Linked DNA regions of Homo sapiens: region 1 is linked to region 2. Evidence: promoter capture Hi-C in human tissues and cell types (Jung and others, 2019). All regions are on one chromosome and are shown on one strand. The core of a region is centred on a gene start or on the middle of the fragment in contact, and the rest is flanking DNA. Distances in the headings are between cores, read along the strand shown.

Region 1 (4,592 bases), core at 1,588-4,087, 33 kb after region 2:
GTAATGTGTACTGCTCAGAGAAGTGGTGTGATCATTCAATTTCCAAAAGACAATATTTCATATGAATTTTACAAAAGGATATTTACAAAGTGTGTTCTTTATTACCACTACGTTTAATATACTTTGTGCACTTCTAAACACCTGGACAGACTAGATGTTTCATATAAGGACTTAAGTTCGTCTACTATATACACAGTAGTATTGAATAAGCTACACATGTAACAACGGTTATATCTGAAAGTATCATCTATATTGTTCTGGTCTAGAATCCTCCATTTCTTCCAGTTCCTCTCCACCGCCAATCTGATGGATATAAGTACATGTGTCACTTGGACGTGATGTTATCATTTTACTTCTAAAAGTCCTTTTGAGAAGACAGCTTTTCTGTGAATTTTAATACAAAGTGTACAAAATGAATAGATACACTTTAGAATTAAAGACACATGTAGGTTGACAGTAAAGGGATAGAAAAGGATATTTTATGCAAATAGTAACCAAAAGAAACCAGAGGGGGCTATACTTATATCAGACAAAATAGACTTTAGGTCTAAAACTGTCTGTAGACACAAGGAAGATCATTTTATAGTGATAAAAAGGTCAGTTCTACAGGAAAATATAACAATATAACAATCATATACACACTCAACATCAGAGCACCTGAATATATAAAGCAAATATTGACAGATCTGAGGACAGGAATTGACAGCAATACATTAATAGTAGGGGACTTTGATACCTCACTTAACAATAAGTGATAGAACATCCAGACAGAAAATCAATAAAGAAACACTGACTTGAACAACACTATGGAAAAGATGGACCTAACCACCATATGCAGAACTTCTTATCCAACAGCAGAAGTATGCACATTTTTCTCAGGCACACACAAAACATTCTCTGGGATAGATCACATATTAGGCCACAAAATGAGTCTTAACAAATTTAAGACGTTCAAAATAATTCTAAGTACCTTTTTCAACCACAATGAAATGTAACTACTAACCTATAACAGCAAGAAAACAGGAAAATTCACAAATATGTGGAAACAAAACACACTCCAGAACAACCATTGGCTCAAAGAAGGTATCAAAAGGGAATTTAAAAAGTGTCTTAGCGAGGCGCAGTGGCTCACGCCTGTAATCTCGGCACTTTGGGAAGCAGGTGGGCAGATCACTTGAGGTCAGGACCTCCAAACTAGCCTGGCTAACGTGGTCTGGAGTTCAAGATCATCCTGGCCAACATGGTGAAACCCCATCTCTACTAAAAATACAAAAAATTAGCTGGGCATGGTGGCATGCACCTGTGATCCCAGCTACTTGGGAGGCTGAGGCAGGAGAATCACTTGAACCCGGGAGGCAGAGGTTGCAGTGAGCTGAGATTATGCCACTGCACTCCAGCCTGAGCAACAGAGTGAGACTCCATCTCAAAAAAAAAAAATAATCTCAGCATTGAATTTCCCTGCTCCTTTATCAAAGATAATTCGACTATATTTATGTGTGTTTCTTTCTGGGCTCTCTGTTTTCTTCCCTTGATCTGTTTGTCTTGACAACCATAGCTTTATAGTAAATCTTGAAGTCAGGAAGTATCTGACTTGTTCTACTCCTTCAATTTCACGTTGCCTATTCTGGGTCTTTTGGCTTTTCATATAAACTTTAGATTTCATTTGTTGATATCCACAAACAATTTGCTGGCATTTTGATTGGGATTTTGATTGTGTCGAATGTATAGATCCAGTTGGGAAGAACTGACATCTTGACAATATTGTCTTCCAATCCATGAACTTGGGAATATTTCTTCATTTATTTAGCTCTTCTTTGATTTTGTTCATCAAAAAAATTGTAGGTTTCCTTACATAGATCTTGGATGTGTTTGTTAGACTTATACCTAAAGATTTCATTTCGTGGGTGCTCATGTAAATTGTATTGTGTTTTTAATTATAAATCCCACTTATTCATTGTTGCTATACAGGAAAGCAATGGACTTTTGTATATTAACCTTGTATCTTGCAACTTTGCTACAATTGCTTATCAGTTCCAGTTTTTTTGTTGATTGTTTTAGACCTTCTACATAGATGATTACACCATCTGCTCAACAAATATCAAAAATATTAGCATTTTGGTGTATATCTTTCTAGAGTCTTTTAAAAATAAATTAGACACCTTTATATTTATTGTGTGTATATACACATAATTGTATGTAACATAAATGTTACATAATTGGGATTCAGTGAGAAAGCTTCTAGTTTCTTATCTGAGATGCTAGACTTTTATTCTCACAACAAGAAAAATCCTGCAGAGGCCGGGCGTGGTGGCTCACGCCTGTAATCCCAGCACTTTGGGAGGCCGAGACGGGTGGATCACGAGGTCAGTAAATCGAGACCATCCTGGCTCACACGGTGAAACCTCGTCTCTACTAAAAATTCAAAAAAAATTAGCCGGGCGTGGTGGCGGGCACCTGTAGTCCCAGCTACTCAGGAGGCTGAGGCAGGCGAATGGCGTGAACCCGAGAGGCGGAGCTTGCAGTGAGCCGAGATCGCGCCACTGCACTCCCAGCCTGGGCGACTGAGGGAGACTCAGTCTCAAAAAAAAAAAAAAAAAAAAAAAAAAAAAAGAAAAGAAAAATCCTGCAGAAACTGAAAATCAACAACTCTTTATCAGTCAGATGATTGAGGTCACAAGGCAAGACACTTCACCTGCAATTGGTGAGACAAGCCCATACACAGAATCAAAGCTTACTAGAGGCCAGGAGCGGTGGCTCATGCCTGTAATGCCAGCACTTTGGGAGGTCGAAGTGGGTGGATTGCTTGAGCCAAGGAGTTGGAGGCCAGCCTGGGCAATGTGGCGAAATCCTGTCTCTACTAAAAATGCAAAAATTAGCCGGGTGTGGTGGCACACACCTGTAATCCCAGCTACTCGGGTGGCTGAGGCAAGAAAACTGCTTGAACCCAGGAGGTGGAGGTTGCAGTGAGCCAAGATTGTGCCACTGCACTCCAGCCTGGTTGACAGAGAGAGACCCTGATTGAAAAAAAAAAAATTGCTTACTGGAGCAGAAGCCCACTGCAGCAGCAAGATGCAGATTCCTTTTACTCAGTACATTGTATCCACCCTTCAACAAAAAATTACACGGCAAATTGAAAGACAAAAAACAATTTGAGGAGACAGAACAAGCATCATAACCAGACCCAGATATTGTAGAGATTTTGGATTGCTGACAGGAATTTAAAATAACTATTTAACGTGTTAAGGCCTCTAATGGACAAAAGTGAAAAACATGCAAGAACAGATGCATAATATAAGCAGAGAGATGGGGACTTTAATAAAGAATCAGGACTAGCCAGGAGACCAGAGATGTAGCACCTGGAGCAGCATGGCCCAGCCTTGTGGAGTGCATCTGAGCGGGAAGGCCTGCAAGCAGGCGGAGGTCTTCAGGCAAAATCTTTTCCAGGAGGCTGAGGAATTCCCCTACAGATTCTTGCCACAGAAAGTCATATATCTGAATCAGCTCTTGCAAAAGGAGTCCTTCAATGTGGCTGATCTGACCTCCCTCTGAGTGCCACTGAAATCCCCATCCCAGACCCTCTATCCAAGGATGATGAGTTGGAAACAGATAAGCAGGAGGAGAAAGAAGTCTCCCTGGCATGAGAAGGTCCTTTTCCTGTTCCCCTGGATAAGACAGAAGTCTGGACTCTCAAAGAGAAATGCATTCTGGTGATCACATGGATCCAGCATCTGATCCCCAAGATTGAGGATGGACATTATTTTGGGATATCACTCCGGGAGAAGGTGCTGGAGAGGATAAAGGCAGTCAAGACCAAAGTGGTTCCAGACAACCACGTCCAAGTACTTCTCAGAACATGGAGATGCTGTGGCCAAGGCCTCCAAGGAAATTCATGTAATGGATTATTACCAGGCCTTGGTGCACAGGCAAGATGAGGCACCTATGGGGAGATCGGGGACACCGTGCTTGAACTGAGGGCTTTCTATGCTGAGCTTTATCATAATTTCAGAAGCAACCTGGAGAAAATTGTTAACCCAAAGGGTGAAGAGAAGCCGTCTATATACTGAGCCCAGGGCTAGAAGAGAAATAAATGACTTATACTTTGTGTGGATTAAAAGACAATAATCAAGGCCTTTTCCTCTCAGAAGTCCCCTCTCTCACAGTAGACAGAGAGCTGTTTTCCTATTTTTTTACCTATTAAACCTCCACTCCTAAACTCCTAACAGTAATAATAATAGTAATAATAATAATAATAATATTCAGGCCATGTGTGGTGGCTTATGTCTGTAATCCCAGCACTTTGGGAGTCTGAGGCAGGAACATTGTTTGAACTCAGGAATCCAAGACCAGCCTAAGCACTATAGTGAGACCTCCTCTCTTAAAAAAAAAAAGTCACCAGACATGGTAGTGCATGCCTGTGGTCCCAGCTACTTGGGAGGCTGAGGCAGGAGAATCACTTGAGCCTGGTGGTCAAGGCTGCAGTGAGCTGTGATTGCGCCACTGCATTCCAGCCTGGGTGACAGAGTGAGACCTCATCTCAAAAACAAAACCAAACCAAATAAAAAATAGGCCGGGCGCAGTGGCTCACGCCTATA
Region 2 (5,227 bases), core at 780-3,279:
CAGGGAATGTAAAAAGACACTGCCCAGGAAAAAGCATCTCTATGGTCTACAGAATGACTGCTATGCTGAAGTTAGGCTATCTTCAGATGACTCTTCCTCCCAGTGTGACCTGCAGTGTTACCTTCAAATAAAAACATGGCAAGAAACACCCTTGATATACAATAGGGCCATGGATGGAAATATCTGGATACGGTAGAAATAGAAGAACCTTGTATTTTCTCACATAAAGGGGGTCACAGGACAAGCTGGAAAAGAAGCCAGACTTTGAGGTGGAAGACTCCCACTGGAATTGCTGGATCATTTAACTAAATACCCAACCTTGGCTATGCGCCCCAAGCTCTCTAAATCTGTTTCCTAACCTGGAAAGCAGTGCTGATAAGGCACGCATCTCACAGTGGGGCTGTGAGTAGGAAATGATGTAATTCAGTTGGAAGCGCTTTTTTCAAATGCTTTATTCAAATGCAAAGCACATCTGCCGCTAAGTCCAAAATGCCCCCTCCGGTTCTCTCAGCCCCTCCACTCCTATATTCTTCTTCCCCAGTCTGTTTCTCATCCGGAGACGCCTTTCCACCTATCAAGATGGGCTGATCTTCAAATTGCGACTGATTGTCCAGCAGATGTAACTATATTCACCAAACTATCTCTCACAATTGGACTGTGGGGGTGGTTGGTAACCGCATTTAATCCTGGGCTGACAATGGGACTGGATCCCTGGTTACACGGCCCTACGCGGTGGCCCTGCGGTAAACGGCCTCTCAGCCCAAACCCACCCTGGTTACTGAGCATGCCCAGAACTCCCTCCCGGGCCACCAAAGGAGGGGCACCATTTCTGCAGGATTTTGCCACTGTGGAAAGAGAGGCGGAGCTGTCATCGCGCAGAGGCAGGGACTGATACGCGGAAAGGACGTGGAGATGGGAATAAGCAATGAAGGACCAGCATTGACCGTGTTAGGCACACAAATCTAATTGCCCCCTGGTTACTTACCAACCCGGTGGCCGTGGCTCAGCTACTGCACACACACACCAAGTTCCTACACACCTTTCCCCTGCTTGGCCCCACACAATTCATGGCACTCACAGCCCACATCCTACCTCCTACTCCGCACCAGATGCGCACCCGCACTTACTCCCCAAACACGTGGCATCTGGTAACCCGGGAAACGCTGCGACTGTGGCGCAGTGCGCAACAGGGGCGGGGGAACCAGGCGGGGCTCTGGGGCGCAGGGGAAAGCTGGAGATTTGGGAAGGGGGTTTCAGTTTGTTTTTTCTCTCTTTTTTTTTTTTTTTTTTTTTTTTTGGTGGAGGAAGCAGAATAAACCAAATCGCGACACGTTCCTGCGCCCTTCTTGGCGCAGTGGCGCAGACACGGTCCATGGCGCCTTGCGCAATAGAGTCGGTCTGCACCCCGTCTTTAAGTCGTGGCCCTGGGCTGGAATTCCCGACTGCACTCTTTGCTACACCCCCATAGACCGCAGACCTGCGTCTCTCTCTATATTCCTCTCCCATCTGCTACGCCCCTCTGAATTTCTTCCCGCCATGTTGTGTGCCCCCCCCCCACTCCCCCGTCACCCCAACCACACCAAAGTGGATGCACGAAGCGGGAACCTTCTCGTTTCAGTCTCTGCTCCCTGCAGCCTGCCAAGGCGAGTGGACAAACTGAAGCTGGGGTGTCCAGCGTCTTGGCTGCCCCCCTCCTGTCCACCCTGCCTGTGCTATCCTTGCTCATCTTCAGTGCCATCCCGCTTCCCACACCCTGAGTAGCCTGGCGCCCGGCTTGTCCCCTTTTCCCATCCATCAGCTCACACCCAGGGTAACGGGGCGGGACCCCTATCCACAGTGCGCCCTCGCCCCCGGCCCACCTCCGCCATGCGGCGGGGCAGAGGCGCCTGGGCCAGGCAGGTGGAGGAGAGGGGCACTGGGGCTGGGGGCTGCGTCCTCCGGTCCTCACTCCGCGTGCCCTGCCCGATACTTACCCAGGCGCGGAGAGCGGTCAGCGGGCCCTCCGCTCCGCATCCATTAGCTGGTGGTCTGGCCGCTTCACTTCCGGAGCGCGGGGCTAGGGGCGGTGCCGCCCTCCCCTCTCTCTCTCCTTCCCTCCCCTCCAGCCCTCCCCTGAGCACCGCTCCCCTCCCCGGCGCCGCGCCCCGCCCGCGCCTCCCTCCTCCCAGCGCTGCCGGGAACTGGCAGCCTTTCGGCTCCCGCAGCCGCAGCGGACGCCCTCCCAGATCCAACTTTGCCGCTTCCCCGAGCTCGCGCTGTAGCCGCGGGGGGCGTGGGCAGGGAGGGGAGAAGCGGGGTCAGGGGGAGGGACCGGGAGGGTGGGTCGCCGGCTCGCCAGCCCTCCTTCCTTTCTGTGCACCTTGCGGTGGGCGGCGAACGGCAGCCGCGGCAGCAGCTAGGGGGCTTGTGCACACAGCGAGGGAGACTTAGGGACTGGCAGACGGACGGACGGACGGCGAGGACCCTACCCGAGCCCCCGAGCCATGGCCGAGAGAAAGCAATCCGGGAAGGCGGCAGAGGACGAAGAGGTCCCTGCTTTTTTTAAAAACCTGGGCTCCGGCAGCCCCAAGCCCCGGCAGAAATTCTGTGGCATGTTCTGCCCGGTGGAAGGGTCCTCGGAGAACAAGACCATCGACTTCGACTCGCTGTCGGTGGGCCGGGGCTCGGGGCAGGTGGTGGCTCAGCAGCGGGACGTCGCCCACTTGGGCCCGGACCCGCAGCCGCCGTACTCGCGGCAGGGCCGGCGCGCCGGCGGAGAGCCATCTGTTGAATCGGGCCGGAAGGTGGAGATCCGGAGGGCCTCGGGCAAAGAAGCCCTGCAGAACATCAACGACCAGGTCGGTGTGGGGGTTGGGGGTGGAGACGGAGGACGGGGCGCGGGGATCGCCCCTCCCTCGCCCCTGAGCCCGGCGCGCCCGCCTTCATGCCCCGCCCTGGACCTCGCCTCCCGCATCTGCACGCGCACCCCGCCCTACCCGCCCCTTCTCCGCGCAGGGTGCGGCGAGGCTCGGGCTGGGCGGTGGGCGGCCGTGCGCCCACAAAGGCTGCCCGCGTCTCCTTGAGCTTGAGAGGTGGGGCGTGGGCATAGGGAATGGGCTGATCCCCTGCTGGGGCGGGCGGTGGTCGTCTGGGAGGGGGTTGGCCGCGGTTCCATTCTTCTGAAACCCTCCCGGGCGGCTTCCGATTGCAGCTGCGGCTGGGTGCCCCACCCTTTTTTTGAGCGGCTCAGAGCGTGCGGTGGAGGCTTTGCGTGAAGGCCCGCGGCTCCCCGGTGGTCGGGAGGGGCGGGGGTTCGGACGGCCGCTCCCTACAGCCTCCGCCCGCGCCTTCTGCGCTCACGTCCCGAGCTCCGAGGCCAGGACCATGGTCAGCGCCCCCCGGACCCCCTCCGAGCACCGCACCGCCCTTGACTCCTGCTCGCAGCGTGAGAAGAGCCAGGAAGGCTGTGGAGTCACCCGAGGAAACCGAGACGCTCCTAAATAGCCTATGTGGGGAACAAAGTTCCAATAAGTGTCTCAGCCGGGGCTTCACAGAGCGCTCCCCAAACCGCTATGTGGGAGGCGCTTTAGGAAGCGGGGAACTAAGTGGATTATGTTCAAAGGGTCAAAAAGACAAGAAAAGGGGGAAAACCCCTCGCACTCGAAATAGACTGTCGAAGAAGACTAAACCCCCTTTTATTGTGTTAATGGGGGAAACAAAGGCCAATTTGGTCACGCTTGATTTTAGAAAATGTTTGTCACTTTCTGACAAATATGAACAGTGAGCATTTTCAGCGCAGTAATAATCTCACACCACAATTCTTTCTTTATCTGAGTGATCCTTACACTAGTGTAATTCTTTTCCACAGCCTTAATTTCTTAACTGATAATTTACAATGCAAAATGTTTTAACACGTTTTCCGTTTCTCTCCCATGCCTGCTGGTAAAAATAATAAGTCAATCAATGAATGATTGTTGATTGAATACCTATTGTGCGCCTTGCCTTGTAGGGCAGAGGGAAGGTTAGTTATAGAAAGTGCAAGAGGTTTCTTCTTCTCAGAGGGCTTCCAGAGTAGTTGGGAGTGGTCTATACATATTCAGCGAGGGATTCCACAAGCATTTACATTTGTGTACTTACAGTGACAGCCTTTGAGAACAATTCAGAATTGGTGATGATGGTTGGGGCATGATTTGACTGTTTGCTGATGTGACATAGAGTTTTGCAGCTTTTGACTTTTGTAGGGTCAAGTCTAGGAAAAACAAGGCATTTGCTGTCATTTGTAAAAGGTGACACAACTAATAATTTATATCCAACCCCAGCCCTGCCCTCTAATTTATTCATATAAGGGAGTGTCTCATATCCATATTTCACTATGAGTCAACCAGAAGAAACTAAATCCAAAAAACTTGCTTTGTTCCAAGTGATCAGACAATTGAAGTAAAAGTTTCTAATAATGTAACTTATACTGAAAGCTGAGTGAGTGTGTGTGAAACACTTCCCTGTGTGAGTACATTGAGTGAGGGCCAAAATCATATAGCATCTTGGTTGAGTGAGTAGCCTCATGCATGGCGAGTTGTGCTGGTGATTGTGATGTCCTAGAGAAAGCAGAAAAACAACTGGAGAATAAAGAAGAAATCATGTAAAAAGTGGCAGATCAGAGGATAGGGGTTGAAAGTGGCCCACCCCTATCATGAATTAGAACTCAAGTTTGAAAGGCATAGTTTTATCGGGTTGAATAACACTTCTTTTTTCTTGGCCATTTAGAAGCTTAGATATATGAAATTCTAAATTGTAAAACTAAGGCACGCAGAGGGGGAGATTTGAAGAGAAAATACTCAAACAAACTGCAAGGGAGTTTTAGATTGCAATTCACATTGATTTCAGTTGCCCAGTTATTAGTAACAGAGGGCGATTCTAGCTTGGCCTTTCTGCAGCACCTTCCCCTGAATTTTCATGTTTAATCTTGCCTTATCATATAAGGCCTACTCAATGAGATTTTGTCATTCACGACTAAGAGCATTTACCTGGATCAGTACTTGCAATGTTTCAATATTTCATGTCTTTAGAAAAGGGGAAAGGCTGTGGCTATACATGTGTTTATATTTATAACAATGTGACTTCCGAAAAGCTCAACTGGCCCACCATTTTGACTGAGTTGACTTGTCATTAGTTGGTTTTCAACGAATGAGTTGGGTGAGTGCCAGCATCTCTGTGCATTCTAATTGGAAGCCCTGACGCAGAGAAAGGT

What was found. The method cuts DNA at HindIII sites, captures the fragments that hold promoters and counts their contacts. A contact is called where the count stands out against the background at its distance.
Region 1: a contact is called between a fragment that was not itself captured here and the fragment with the promoter of PNMA2 in region 2, in 3 of the 25 tissues and cell types used here (aorta, hippocampus and small bowel).

Annotation. Positions count from the first base shown.
Region 1 is chr8:26,544,342-26,548,933 of GRCh38, forward strand. All of the region lies in intron 1 of DPYSL2 (dihydropyrimidinase like 2), which reads left to right. It also overlaps the pseudogene PSME2P5. Among named protein-coding and RNA genes, the nearest start is that of DPYSL2, 33 kb to the left of the region's middle. The HindIII fragment of the contact is 4,356 bases long and covers 660-4,592 here.
Region 2 is chr8:26,511,843-26,517,069 of GRCh38, forward strand. PNMA2 (PNMA family member 2) reads right to left here and starts at 2,030. Exons shown (of 3, transcript NM_007257.6): 1 at 1,974-2,030. DPYSL2 (dihydropyrimidinase like 2) reads left to right here and starts at 2,189. Exons shown (of 14, transcript NM_001197293.3): 1 at 2,189-2,837. The coding sequence starts at 2,484. RefSeq lists enhancers at 191-485, 272-1,144. The HindIII fragment of the contact is 13,621 bases long and covers 1-5,227 here.